Linked DNA regions of Homo sapiens: region 2 is linked to region 1. Evidence: promoter capture Hi-C in 16 types of primary human blood cells and fetal thymus (Javierre and others, 2016). All regions are on one chromosome and are shown on one strand. The core of a region is centred on a gene start or on the middle of the fragment in contact, and the rest is flanking DNA. Distances in the headings are between cores, read along the strand shown. Region 1 holds the start of SLC17A4 (solute carrier family 17 member 4). Region 2 has its middle 5.1 kb from the start of SLC17A3.

Region 1 (6,819 bases), core at 3,529-6,028:
GAAAATATCACAATCCTAAATATATATGCACCTAACACTGGAGCTCTTAAGTTTATAAAACAATTACTACTAGACCTAAGAAATGAGATAGACAGCAACATAATAATAGTGGGGGACTTCAGTACTCCACAGACAGCACTAGACAGGTCATCAAGACAGAAAGTCAGCAAAGAAACAATGGACTTAAACTATACCCTAGAACAAATAGACTTAACAGATATTTACAGAACACTCTACCCAACAACTGCAGAATATACATTCTATTCATCAGCACATGGGACATTCTCCAAGACAGACCATATGATAGGCCACAAAACAAGTCTCAACAAATTTAAGGAAATCGAAATTATATCAAGTACTCCCTCAGACCACAGCAGAATAAAATTGGAAATCAACTCCAAAAGGAACTCTCAAAGCTGTGCAAATACATGGAAATTAAATAAGCTGCTCCTAAATGATCATTGGCTCAACAATGAAATCAAGATGAAAATTAAAAAATTCTTTGAACTGAACGACAACCGTGACATAACCTATCAAAACCTCTGGGATACAGCAAAAGCGGTGCTAAGAGGAAAGTTCATACCATTAAATGCCTACATCAAAAAGTCTGAAAGAGCACAAATAGACAATCTAAGTTTACACCTCAAGGAACTAGAGAAACAAGAACAAACCAAACCCAAACCCAGCAGAAGAAAAGAAATAACCAAGATCAGAGCAAAACTAAGTGGAAATTGAAACAAACAAACAAAAAATACAAAAGATAAATGAAACAAAAAAGCTGGTTCTTTGAAAAGATAAATAAAATTGCCAGACCATCAGCGACACTAACCAAGGAAAAAAGAGAGAAGATCCAAATAAGCTCAATTTGAAACAAAACGGGAGATATTAAAATTGATACCAGAGAAATACAAAATATCATTCAAGACTACTATAAACACCTTTACGTGTGTAAACTAGAAAACCTAGAGGAGATGGATAAATTCCTGGAAATATAAAACCCTCCTAGATTAAACCAGGAAGAAATAGAAACTCTCTCTGCAAAGGAATGGGGAGGGTAGGAACGGCCATGCAGGCATTGAACTTTGTCTTTGGTGTTTACATGTGTTACAACAATAATGTAATTTGAATTATTACTGTAATTAAAAATAAATTTCAGGGACACAGGTAGGCTGAGATGAAAAAGGTGAGAATGTTTTTAGAGACAGTTGCTGGTATTCTCTGTCAGGTATTCACTCTCACTCCAGGAAAGAAAGGAGGAGGGCACTGCCCCGTCACTTCAAGTCAAATTATAGGAGCTGCCTGCAAGGAGGTCATTCAGGGAGCTTGACATATGTCCCCTATGTGTGTGTGCATGTGTGTGCATAAAGGTGAGTGACACATGCCTCAGAATCTAAGGGCATGAGGTGGTGACTCTTGGTCTGAGGCTGCAGAGCACAGCAAAGGTCTACACCACACTGGAGGCTGTGATACGTCCCACGGCAGCAGAGGTGAAGAAGCACAGGTGGAGACCAGCAGGTCCCTTGTGAACCAGATACGGATGACTCAGGAAAAATCCAGTTTACAATCTCTTAAATGACAACTGTCTGGAGAAGCCACACGACCCCAAAAGACAGGGCGGACTGCCTGATGCCCAACACCTGAGAAAGGAACCCTAACTGCTGAGTTAGTGAACACATATCACCCCTGACATGGGAGGACTGGTGGATGCCCCCAGTGGGGTACAATAAAGGATTCAGCATTGAACATTCATCCAACCCAGAGACCACCAATGCCAGGTCACAAGAGCTCCAGCTAAGAAAGACACTTCCTGCTTCTTGCTTCTAACTCCCTACCCACCAGCCCTGGAAAGATCAGAAGCCACAGCTAGCAAGAGGGGTGAGAGGAGTTGCTGACAGAGAAAGGGATCAAGAAACCAACCAAATGATCCCTTCCCTCCCCAGGCCCAAACTGGAGCAGCGGGTTGGGGGGCAGGGGAAAGAAGGTATACTTTTAGATCAAGTTTGGAATTTTCTGGTTTTCACTGGACTGGACCTATTAATTAAAAAATGAGATTATTTGAAGACTACAAATAAGCAATAAATCTATTACTACTGACAATGATCAGAGAAGTTACAGCACCAAGCAGATATAAAGTTACAGCACCAAGCAGATGTAAAGGAATAAAATGTAAAGGGATAAGCAGTAGGTGCTGGTGAAATGAAATCATTTTCCATGTGCTCTCTGTGAAGGACTATTCTTATTAATATAAAAGAAAATAGACCTGATCCTTTGGTGCTATTGTGTTTAAAGATAAGTGGAAATGTTATGTAACGTACCACTAAAGCTGGTAAGTAAGCAACTGACAGAGAAGTTGCCTCAATGATGTCATTCAAAACCACAGATGTTAGACCATGGAACCCTCTAGTCTGCACTGGAATTCGAAAACACACTCAAAATTGAATTGAAATCCAAACAAATACTCATTGGCAAATGGAATGGTTCTGGTAATTCTGAAAAGAAACTTGGTAAAATGAGGGGACTGAATAGTCTGCTGGAAAAATAATTTGCTTATCATTTATTTTCACACCTCAGGGCAATTAGTTGAATTGAAAAAATCATATCAGTCACAAGAACTAAAGACATAGCTTTCAGGGCAACATTTTTTTCCACAAGCTATACCCACACAGACTCTTCGAGTGTTCCAATGTCTAAGAGTTCACTGGCCGCAAGTTCATTCATTGATTCAGTAAATATTTATTGAATCAATGAATGCAATGTTGTGCTTTCATAGCTCCATCTCCTGCATGACTGAAGAACTTAGTTCTCATTAAATTGCCCTCTCCTTTTACTTATTATAACCAGAAATCAATTGCCAGTTTTTTCAGTAACAGGCGATAATGGTTTTGCTGGCGTTAATGAGAGCAGTGGGAACAGACAGCCGAGGGTGAAGGGAGGACAGTGCTGTTGTGGGGACAGCGTGATGCAGGCACAGACAGTACACCTGCGAGAAAGTTACATCCCAGGAGGGGCACATATGAAAAGAAAGAAGTAAGAATGCCACATGGTATGAAAAAAACAAGAGTAGCATTGACAGCAACTAGGTCATTAGCATCAGGAGAGGAGGGCAAGCACTCTGCCTAGTCTAACCACTTACCTAGTGTGGTTGTGTGAAATGGTTATATTTGAGCTGAAACGGGAACACTGAGAAGGAGACAGCGCTGAGCAAGAACAATTCCAGGCAGAGGAACCAGCAAGTTTGTCACGTTTTTCTAGGCAGAAGGTAGTCCAACATGGCGATGCAGAGTGAATGAGGAGGTTAATGGTAGGAGATGAGATCAAAGGGGTGGGCAGGATGGTCTCGATCTCCCAAAATGGCCAGACCATTTTGGGTCCTATAGGCCTGGTAAGGGGACTGGATCTACTATGGCCACTGTGTGGCACATGGGCTGTAAAGGACAAGATTGAGAACCAAGAGACTGAACAAGAAGTTGTTTCTTCACCTGTACAAGTGTTGATGGTGGATGGGCTAGGCTAGTTGTGGTGAAAAAGACCACATTCAGGACCTGTTTTGGAGATATGCCACTAAGACTTGCTAATGAGGTGTATATGGGAATGAGAGAAAGGGAAGAATCATCAGAGACTTCTAGACTTACGGCTTGAGCAAATGAGTGAATAGTGTTGCACTCAAAGAAGTTGGCGAAATGAGCAGGGAGGGCAACAGGTTCCAGAGGAAAAGCAAGAACTTTATTTTGGACACTTGGGGTTGAGACTCCTGTTAGACCCAGAAGGGAAGATTGACAGGTAAGTTTTGTGTCTGTGAGTCCATAGCTAAGAACAGAAGGGCCTTTGTAGAAATATAAATGTGTGAGTCATCAGCCTTATCTATTTATTTTGAAACCAGGTAAATGAGGAAAAAACAGCAAAGAAATGGAGCCAGCCATTCTTATATCAATTTCTCATCAGTTTTTCTTGCCAAGACTGCTTGTGTCTGTTCTTTTTGGATTCATATGCACCCTGTTCCTCTGCTAGTTATCAGTCCACTGTAGAATGAGACTTTTCCTTAAGGTGCTGGGCAGAGCTATTAACAGCTCAAATGTCATCTTAGGTGGTCTCAGCACTGAACATTTTTCCTCCTTATGAGAAACAGCCCATGGCTCTTATTCACAGTTTGCAAATAAAGTCCTCTGCCCTAAACTCTTCATCATTAACTACTTCCCAAAGCCATATTAGATTTCATTTATTTTGCTTTCCCATAAATTCGCTGGAACCAAACCAGAACCGTTTGGTTTTCATTAATTTTTTAGGCATGATGAAAATCTTCCTCTCTGAGAATTCAGTATTGGCATTTATTGTCTCACTGTGGATTTGATCAATGCTTAAAAAAATTAATGTACTTCACAAAAACAATCCAAATATATCATTTAGTTTCTGTCTCTTCCTCTCTCTCTTTCTTCCTCTGTGTGTGTGTGTGTGTGTGTGTGTGTGTGTGTGTATGTGTGTGTGTCTGTCTGTCTGTCTCTGTTCAGCTATACTTTTAGAAAATTTCATTCTCTTGAATTAATTCCCTGTAGTTCCAGGGCTCTTAATGCAACATCCCTTCTCACTTACCAGAATTATCTCAGGACACAGGCATTCTCTTCTCCACTCCCACAATCTCTGCCCCTAAACAGCAAATTAAGCTGCTCTCTAACAGAAACAGACCCATTCCCATCATCTCAAAAGCAGAATATTAAGGGTAAAAGTTTGAAAGCTAACTAACCTGAGGGAGGAAGAGTGCAGGATCCTCATTCCTTTCAAATAAATATTCTAAGCTCTTTGCAATTGTCTAATTCTGGGAGGTAAATAATTACCCAAAACCTTTAGCCCTTATGTTACCAGCTTGGAGAATTTTATTGGCCCAGTGGTTTAATTTTTAACTTTACATTTTATTGTTTGATTGATAATCAAATCAAGCTCATTAAATCTTCCTCATGCTTCAAGCCCAGCTGAGGTCACCTATGTCTTCCCTCATCCTTAATCAGAATCAATGTCCCTTCTTATAAGGATCCTGACACCCCACATGTTTCACTGACAGCACTATCCCCTTCTGGGGTCTCTCAGAGTTATTATAATCTTCATGGAGATGGGGTATATTTTGCCCCTTTTGAGTCCCTTTTCCACCATCCTGCTGTTTAATAGAACTGAGCTTTCCAAAGAGGAGAGACTTAATACATTTTGGTCGACTTGAGTGATTTTTATGGTTTTCTGATTGTAATTTTTTGCACAAAGGCCATTGAGTTTTCCATGAAAATTAACTCTGTGATTCTCCTCCCTTTTATGGCAAAACATTTCAGAAGACTCATACATATTTGCATTCTGGTTCCCCACCTCTAGTTTTCTCATGAATCCATCAGCAACAAGACAGCCCTTAGCAAAGCCATCACCAGCCTCTCTGCCAGCAAATCCAGTGGTCACATCCCAGGCCCCATCTGTCAGTGCTTGACAGATTCCACCACTCGTTCCTTCTTGATGCCTTGTTTCATTTAATTCATTCAGATCTGATTTTCCTCGTGTCTCATTGGTTGTTCCTTGTCAATACGTTTTGCTGAATCCTTATCTTTTCTCTGGTTTCTAATGTTGATATGCCTAAGACTCTGTCCTTGAACTTCCTCCCTATCTAAACTCACTCCCAAGGAGATCTCAGCCAGTCCCCTTTCCTTTCACACCCAATTCTGACCTCTTCTCTGAGCTTCGACTTCAACTTCATCCATCTCTCCTTGAGTACCCATTAGGTATCTCAGTCTTATGACTGCAAGCAGAACTGAATCTCCCTCCAACCCTACTCCTGGCCCAGGATCCCCCATCTTGGTTAATGGCATTACCATTTCCCTGTTAATCTTGCCAAAAAAAAGTCAGCCTTCATTCTATACTTTCCATCAACATTAATTCCAACAGTATGTTCTATCAGTTCCACCTTCATCTCTTTCCATTATTTTTTATTTTCTCCATTCCTATCACAATCATCTATCACCAGGGTAAATAAAATGATTATTTACCGGGCCCCACTGTTTCCATTCTCTCTCTTTTAATCCACCCCACATAGCAGGCAGAATGTTGGAAATGTACATATGATCATGTTACTTACTGGTGTAAAAGTCTTCCAAAGCCTTCCCAGAGAACCTAGGAGAAAAGAGAGCAAATTCACCTTCCTGAAGGTGCTCCAACACCTTACATCACCTTGGACACACCAACCTTACTGACCTCTGCCCTGCTGTCCTTCCCTCACTAAATTCCAACTAGTTCTGCCTTGTCCATGAAGTTCAAGGCCTTTACACTTGCAGTTCCTCCTGTCAGTGATGCCCAATTCCCCAAGATGATTGCCAAGTGTTTTACCAATGTTGTTAGAAAAGTAAAACACTTGAAAATAGATTTTCCAAGAAGCCTCTAATATGGTCTTGATTTTGTGTCAGCCTAGGCTAACTTGCATATTTGTGTCTTAGTTTTAATAAATCTTTTTTAATTTTTAAAAATTAAAAATAGATCAAAGCTTATAGAATAAGGGTATAAAGAAAATGTTTGGTGTTTTTTTTTTGTTTTTTTTTGTTTTTTTGAGACGGAGTCTCAGACTGTTGCCCAGGCTGGACTGCAGTGGCGTGATCTCGGCTCACTGCAAGCTCTGTCTCCCGGGTTCACGCCATTCTCCTGCCTCAGCCTCCCGAGTAGCTGGGACTACAGGCGCCTGCCACCACGCCCAGCTAATTTTTTGTATTTTTAGTAGAGACGGGGTTTCACTGTGTTAGCCAGGATGGTCTCGATCTCCTGACCTTGTGATCCGCCCACCTCAGCCTCGCAAAGTGCTGG
Region 2 (6,631 bases), core at 1,851-4,350, 120 kb before region 1:
ATCTGTTTCTAGCTTCCTTGAAAAGAGAAAAAGTGTCTACAGGTGACAAGGAAAATCCTGCAGATACTTGTATTCAAAGGAAGTCTGAAAAAGTCTGATTGGATAAAAAATAACGGAAAAAGGCATGTAAAAGTATCTTCAGTTCTGCTTTGCTTGGATGAGGCACCTTCCAGAGAAGTTAGCCGTTAGGGTGTGTGTGTGTGTGTGTGTGTGTGTGTAAGGGATATAGTCCTTATGACCTCTGCTTTTGGTTTGGCATTAGAGGGGGCTACTTCGCAGGAGACATCTGGTTGTGGGAAGCAGGGTGGCGAGGCTGGCGCTGAAGTCCCAGACTTGGTCTTCCCTGGCCGGGCTCCAGCGCCGTCTGCTCCGCAAAGGCATCTATGCCGAGCGTGTCGGGGCCAGAGCGCAGGTGTACCTGGCGGCCGTGCTGGAGCACCTGACCGCCGAGATCCTGGAGCTGGCTGGCAACCCGGCCCGCGACAAGAAGACCCGCATCATCCTGCGCCACCTGTAGCTGGCCATTCGCAACGGCGAGGAGCTTAACAAGCTGCTGGGCGAAGTCACCATCGCGCAGGGCGGTGTCCTGCCCAACATTCAGGGCGTGCTTCTGCCCCAGAAGACCAAGAGCCACCACAAGGCCAAGGGCAAGTAACGTCCCCAGATAATAAAGCCCAGCAGAGCAGATGACCTACTTTTCGAGGGGAAAGAAAAAGTAAAACCAAAAGCCAGCCACGAGTTCAAGTAAAAGCATAGGCAGATAATGCCCAAGAGTATTTCAACAAAGTCTCTCCATTCCTTTCATTCATTACCCTGATACTCTCCACTTTGTTTTCTTTACCAATATTATGTCACATTGGTTTCCTGAAAGCTGAGTTTAGCACTGGATTTCAATGCAAGCTGTATTAGGTTGGTGCAAAAGTAATCGCGGTTTTTGCCATTATTTTAACGCGCGCGCGCGTGTGTGTGTGTGTGTAAGGGATATAGTCTTTATGACCTCTGCTTTTGGTTTGGCATTAGAGGGCACTACTTTGCATGGGACATCTGGTTGTGGGAAGCCATTACTTTTAATGGCAAAAACCGCGATTACTTTTGCATTAACCTAATAATTTTGTGAAAGAGATTTTTATGTGGTATCCAGAAAAGCACTTATAAAACAGTTTTGTTCATGTGGGCTGTTTTATTTGCCATCAAGTTATAATGAATTTGTCAACTGATGATTAATTTCTTCAAGCCTAAGGGACATGCTTTAGTGCTTTTTATTTGGCATGTTTAAGATTGTATTTAGCCTTTAGATATTTTACTATAGGGAGGTATGTATGTGCCAATTGGTTGAAGGTTTCACTCTGTGGGCTGTCAGCTTTCCCAAGAGGTCTCATTCTAGGGTGGTCAGCCAGGCTGATGTAAAAGAGGGTTACAGGCCAAAGGACGCTCCTGTAATGGCCTCTATCAGCCACATTTCTGCCAAAGCTGGACTCTGCAGAGTCCAGATCTGGAGAGTTCAGTAAGGTCTGTAACCTGTAGTTTTATGGAGGATACCCTAGGCTTCATTTCTAGATAAGCTTGTGTCCAAAGCATTGGTTTAGATTGATTTCCTTTTGCCTGATACTAACTCTAAGGGTAACAAAATCCTGTCTCTGGAATGGTGTTGCATCTGCTAGGAATGAACATTTGGCGCAATCTGATGGTTAGATGGTTTCATAAATATCTGTACATATGGCAGATGTTAGTCTAAAATTTACTTTTATTAAACCTAACTTTAGATCACCTTAAGTTTCTTTGATGGCTACCATTGTCTAACAACTAGAAGCTTACGTCAGTTCCCAGACTGGACTGTGGAATAGAGTTTGACCTAGAGTAAAGAAAGAAGCATGCGTACAAAACACAACCTTTGACTTTGGAGTCCAGAGGAGAAATAGATGTAGCTGCCCAATAAACCCACAGGGTAATGAAAAGTGAAGCAATTACATGGTTGAACAATTATCTTCTAGGCCGTCCTTTTTGAAAGTCCAACCAAAAGCATTATGTCTGGGAATCAGAGGCATTATCAATAGAAATAAAATACATAAAACGTGCAGTAAAGAGAAGAATTTTAACCCTTTTGGAGTATGACTGACCTAGAGTAAAAAATATACATTTTTAAAGTGTGCTGCAATACTAATATATAGGCTTATATGTAAACACATGTGTTGCAGCATCGAAAGTTTCACAAAATAATCCTGACTCTTACTAAGTGGGATGCACTATGATCTGTTCCATTCTATTTGGGCCTCATCCATCTTGTTTAAAAAACCATAGTGGCTAAATTGATAAGAGGTGCTAAATTGATAAGAGTAATGACCTGTAGGTTGAAAATCATTGGGATGATGGGAGTGACCAATCAGACAACTTGGCACTGCACCCACAAGGCTGCAACAATTGGTTCAAATGGTAATAAAGTACTCTGGGCTGGGCCAATAAGAGCCTCTCCTAGGTTTTGAACACAGCTGCTTTTTCTTCGCTTTCATGGATGTGATGAATGAGACTCCAAAACTGCCAACAGACTTGTCTGTTGCCTCTTGGAGTAGATTTAAGAGAAGGGAGAAGGTGCAAAAGAACAGCTGAAATAAGAGTTCCAAAGGTCTTCATTTATTTTGGGGCAGAGATTTAATTCCAGTCTCTGGTCCCTGGAACTGTGCTTGTTACAGCTGCTCATTCTTATATTCTGTGACCTACCTCAGTCTCCATATTTTCTTTTTCTCTTTCTTTCTCTTCCAAAGCCATTTCAGTTGGACTTCTATCACTTGTAAGCACAGGTGTCTGACAAATAGAAGCCACAACTGAGTACAATAAAAACTAAACTCTGCAATACAAAGGCCAATAAATAGGTTTGGCCCTTAATCCTCTCTTGTAACAACATTGACATGATCTTGCTCCTCATCCTGGTTTAGCACCAAGAGAAAAATAAGAGTCTGAGTGGGAGAGGGAGGAATCAAAAGGAACTGAGCCAAATTAAGAGCTTTTGGTGTAAATGTTGGAAGCTGAGAAAAGCCATGTCAAGCCGCAGCAAACTCCCCTTCATAAAGGAGGCAGAGGGAAAAAATAAAATAAAAAAGAGGAGAATAAGAGAGAAATTACCCTTTTCATTTTTCTCCAAGCTAAGACTTGCAATCTAGCTACACTTTAAGTGATTGATGTGGTCACTAGGGGCTAAGAAATAAAAATGTTTCAGGTAAGAACATGGAGCTCCCAGATTCAAAATGCCAGCACCTCATACACCCATCCCGGCAGCACAACCAACATTCACCCTCATCTGCTAAGACAAGTTCTCAGAATCAGAAAGTTCATTAACCTGAACTTCAGTAGTAAATAACATTTAAGTTTTGGAAAGGTATTCTTCTATTTGGCAATTCAACACCATCGCTTGTAACAAAAACCAATAGACAAGTACAACTCAACATCCTCAAGACAGAGCACCAAAATTAACAGAAAAACTAGAACCCCTCTCCAAACTAGAAGAATGTTAGTATAAATATTTAACATAAATAAATGAATAATATCAGAAATATATGCTGACATACTTAAAACAAAAATTAGATATGTGAAAAGGAAGGTTTTCTTAGAAATGACAAATATCCTTAGAATTAGGGAAGAAGGAAAGAAATAAGAAAGGAAGGGAAAGAGGAAGGAAAGAATAAGAAAAAAATGAAGCAGGGAAGAAGGAAGGAAAGGAGAGAAGGAGGGAAGGAGGGAGGAAGGAAGAAGGAAAGAAGGAAGGAAGGAAGGGAAGGAAGGTAGGCAGGTGATCTCAGGAATTTGGAAGAAAATTGATACAGGTGAAATTCACAGTAATGCCAAGATACAAAAGGAAGAATAATGAGAGGGAAATTTTATAGGAAACTGATGTTGAAAGTTGGTTTCAATGTTTGCGTAACAGATGAAATAGTCTGGAGGGTAAGAGAATGGACACAACAGCCAGACTTTCTGGGTGGTTGGATTCCTGACTCCGTAGCTTACTAGCAAGTTACTTAACCTCTCTGTAAACTGGCATAATAATAGTACCTACCATAGAAGTTTGCTATGAGAAGTAAAAGTGTTATTGTATGTAAAGTGCTTAGAATAGTGTTCAGCACGTATTTAGTGTTAAATAGGCCTTATTACAAGGAGTCTCTGAAAAGGGGGTGAGGGGCAGAGTAGAAGAATGATTACAAAGAAAGAGATAACCACCATCTTTATTTGAGGATATATTTAGTAAATTAAATTATATGGAAAATTATTTTGGAATATTGGTTGGAATGGCATATGGATTAGTCTGGAGAGACGAGATTTTTACATTTTTGAATGTTCCTGTTCATAAAAATGTTATGTCTCTTTATTTAGTTCGACTTCAATACCTTACAATAAAGCTTTACAATTTTCTGCGTAACGATCTTCTACATCTTTTATTAGATTTATTCCTAGGTTTTATATCCTTTTGTGGCTGTTACATTCTTTTATTGCCATTGTGAATTGTATCTCTTTTTATAATATCTTTTTTTTTGTTTTGGGCTGGTAATTAAAATGCAGTCAGTCTTTGAATATCACTTTTCCATCTGTCAAATTTGCCAAACTCACATTAGTTAAGTAATTTATGTACAGATTTTTTTTGTTTTCTTATGTAGACAATCATATCATCTGTTAATAATCATAGTTTTACTTGTTTTCTAATTGCTTCACATTTCTTTCTTGTGTTATTGTGCTAGTTAGGCCTTCCAGTGAATAGATGTAGCAAACACCTCTTTTATGTATCTGATTGTAACAGGAAGATTCACCTTCGGAATGTTTGTTGTAGGTTTTACAGATGCTGTTTATTAAATACAGGGAATTTTATTTTATTCATTGTTTCTAGGGAATGCTATCCCTTTACATTTCTTTTTGGAATGCATACAGTAACAATATTTTTTGACTGATGGCTGACTGCCTCCAACTTTTTAATTAAATTATATTTGATTATTTTGAATGAATTTGATTTTTAATTGCTTTATTTCAATCATGAATATTAATCATGACGTCTCAGAGGTGGTCATAGAAATAATAATGGTAATGATAATTATGACAGATGACCTTCATTGATTGATTTTCTGTTATATGCAAAGTATGGTGGATGGTTTCATTTTGTTTCATGATTTATTCCTAATTTTTTTCAATGATCTCCAAGTGAGACTCAACAAAGTAAAATACATTTACTCTAAGTCCCTGGTAGTAGGTGAAGTTGTCTTGATATGAATTCAGCATGGTATAATTTTGTAACTTGTGCTGGTTAAAGAATGCAACACTTTCTCACTTGATAATTATGACATCCTTTATGCACTACAGATATCAATTTTGTTTACTATTCTATCTGAAAGCATATAACACCTCAGCCCATAAGCACTCCTGATTTTTTTTTTGTGTATTCTCCTAGAGATTATACTTGTCACAATTGTTCTTTCTTCTTTTCCATAGCCATTGTCCTCAATATATGATTTTGCAGTTTTAGCTGGGCATTCCTGGCAAAATAGTTGCTGAAAGAAATGGCATCGAAACTGGAAAGTAGACTAGAAAGCAGACATGTGTAAGGAAAAAAGTAAGACGTGTTTTCAGTATGGCAATCTAGGACATAAGTTAATGCATTGTGTAGATAACAAAAAATGCACCATTTTGCTCAGCGATAGAAGACAAAATAATAGAGATGGAGTGTTCCACTAGTGTTCTAGATGGACTTCCAAGCCCATGACCAGATGATGTCAGCCTGATAACTACAGTGACCAGATTGACCCCATTTGTCATAGAGATGGTAAGGCAAAACAGGAGTCTGACTTGAACTTGGAGAAAAAAGGATTTGCCAGAACCATGAAGATGTAAGGTTCTGAGCAGATATAACATCACATATGGGTTCATTGTTTAGACCAGAGTGTGTGTGAAAAACCAGCCAAGCTCCAGTGAATGACCACTGCCATTTAGTCAAGTCTTCTGTTTTAAGACTTAGGCTCATTCAGTGTGTTTGCTTGACAGCTACCCCTGATTCATCAGAATCCCTGCTGACATTGTGAGCTTTGAGGGAAGGTCTGACTCTTAAAGGTGCTTCCTCTCCCTGGACCCATCCTGGGCTTCCTCTAGGAAGACTAGAGACAGGTTTCCTATGATCACAACAGGATTGTGCACTGGAGTCCTCTGAAATGTAACCCAGAATCAGAGCCTGCATCCTGCTGAGCTGTCATGTGACTGATTATTAACAACAATGTTCACAGTCTTATGAAACAAGTCTGAAGATAGCTGTTTTTTTTTTTTTTTTTGGTTGTTGTTTTGTTTTAGAGAGAGTCTTGCTGTGTCATCTAGGCTGGAGTGCACTGGCATGATCATAGCTCACTGTAACCTTGAACTCCTAGGCTCAAGGAATCCTCCTCATCAGCCTCCTGAGTAGTTAGGACTACAAATGCGTCCTCCATCTCCAGCCAATTTTCTAAAAAAAATTTGTAGAGAGGAGGTCTCACTGTTGCCCATGCTTGTCTCAAACTCCTGGCCTCAAGTAATCCTCTGGCCTTGGCCACCCAAAGCACTGGGATTACAGGCGTGAAGCACCACGCCTGGCTAAAGATAACTGTTAAAGGAGAAATGTGTACTCTATCTTTTC

Evidence for each region. Contacts are between HindIII fragments. The CHiCAGO score rates a contact against its expected background, and 5 or more counts as called.
Region 2: a fragment that was not itself captured here is called in contact with the fragment with the promoter of SLC17A4 in region 1 in 2 of 17 cell types (megakaryocytes and M2 macrophages); the score reaches 5.8 in megakaryocytes.

Annotation. Positions count from the first base shown.
Region 1 is chr6:25,752,701-25,759,519 of GRCh38, reverse strand. It overlaps SLC17A4 (solute carrier family 17 member 4), which reads right to left and starts at 4,778. Exons shown (of 12, transcript NM_005495.3): 1 at 4,739-4,778. It also overlaps a transcript of SLC17A1 not described here. The HindIII fragment of the contact is 7,086 bases long and covers 1-6,507 here.
Region 2 is chr6:25,876,050-25,882,680 of GRCh38, reverse strand. It overlaps the pseudogene H2AC3P. Among named protein-coding and RNA genes, the nearest start is that of SLC17A3, 5.1 kb to the right of the region's middle. RefSeq lists an enhancer at 1-448. The HindIII fragment of the contact is 2,575 bases long and covers 1,813-4,387 here.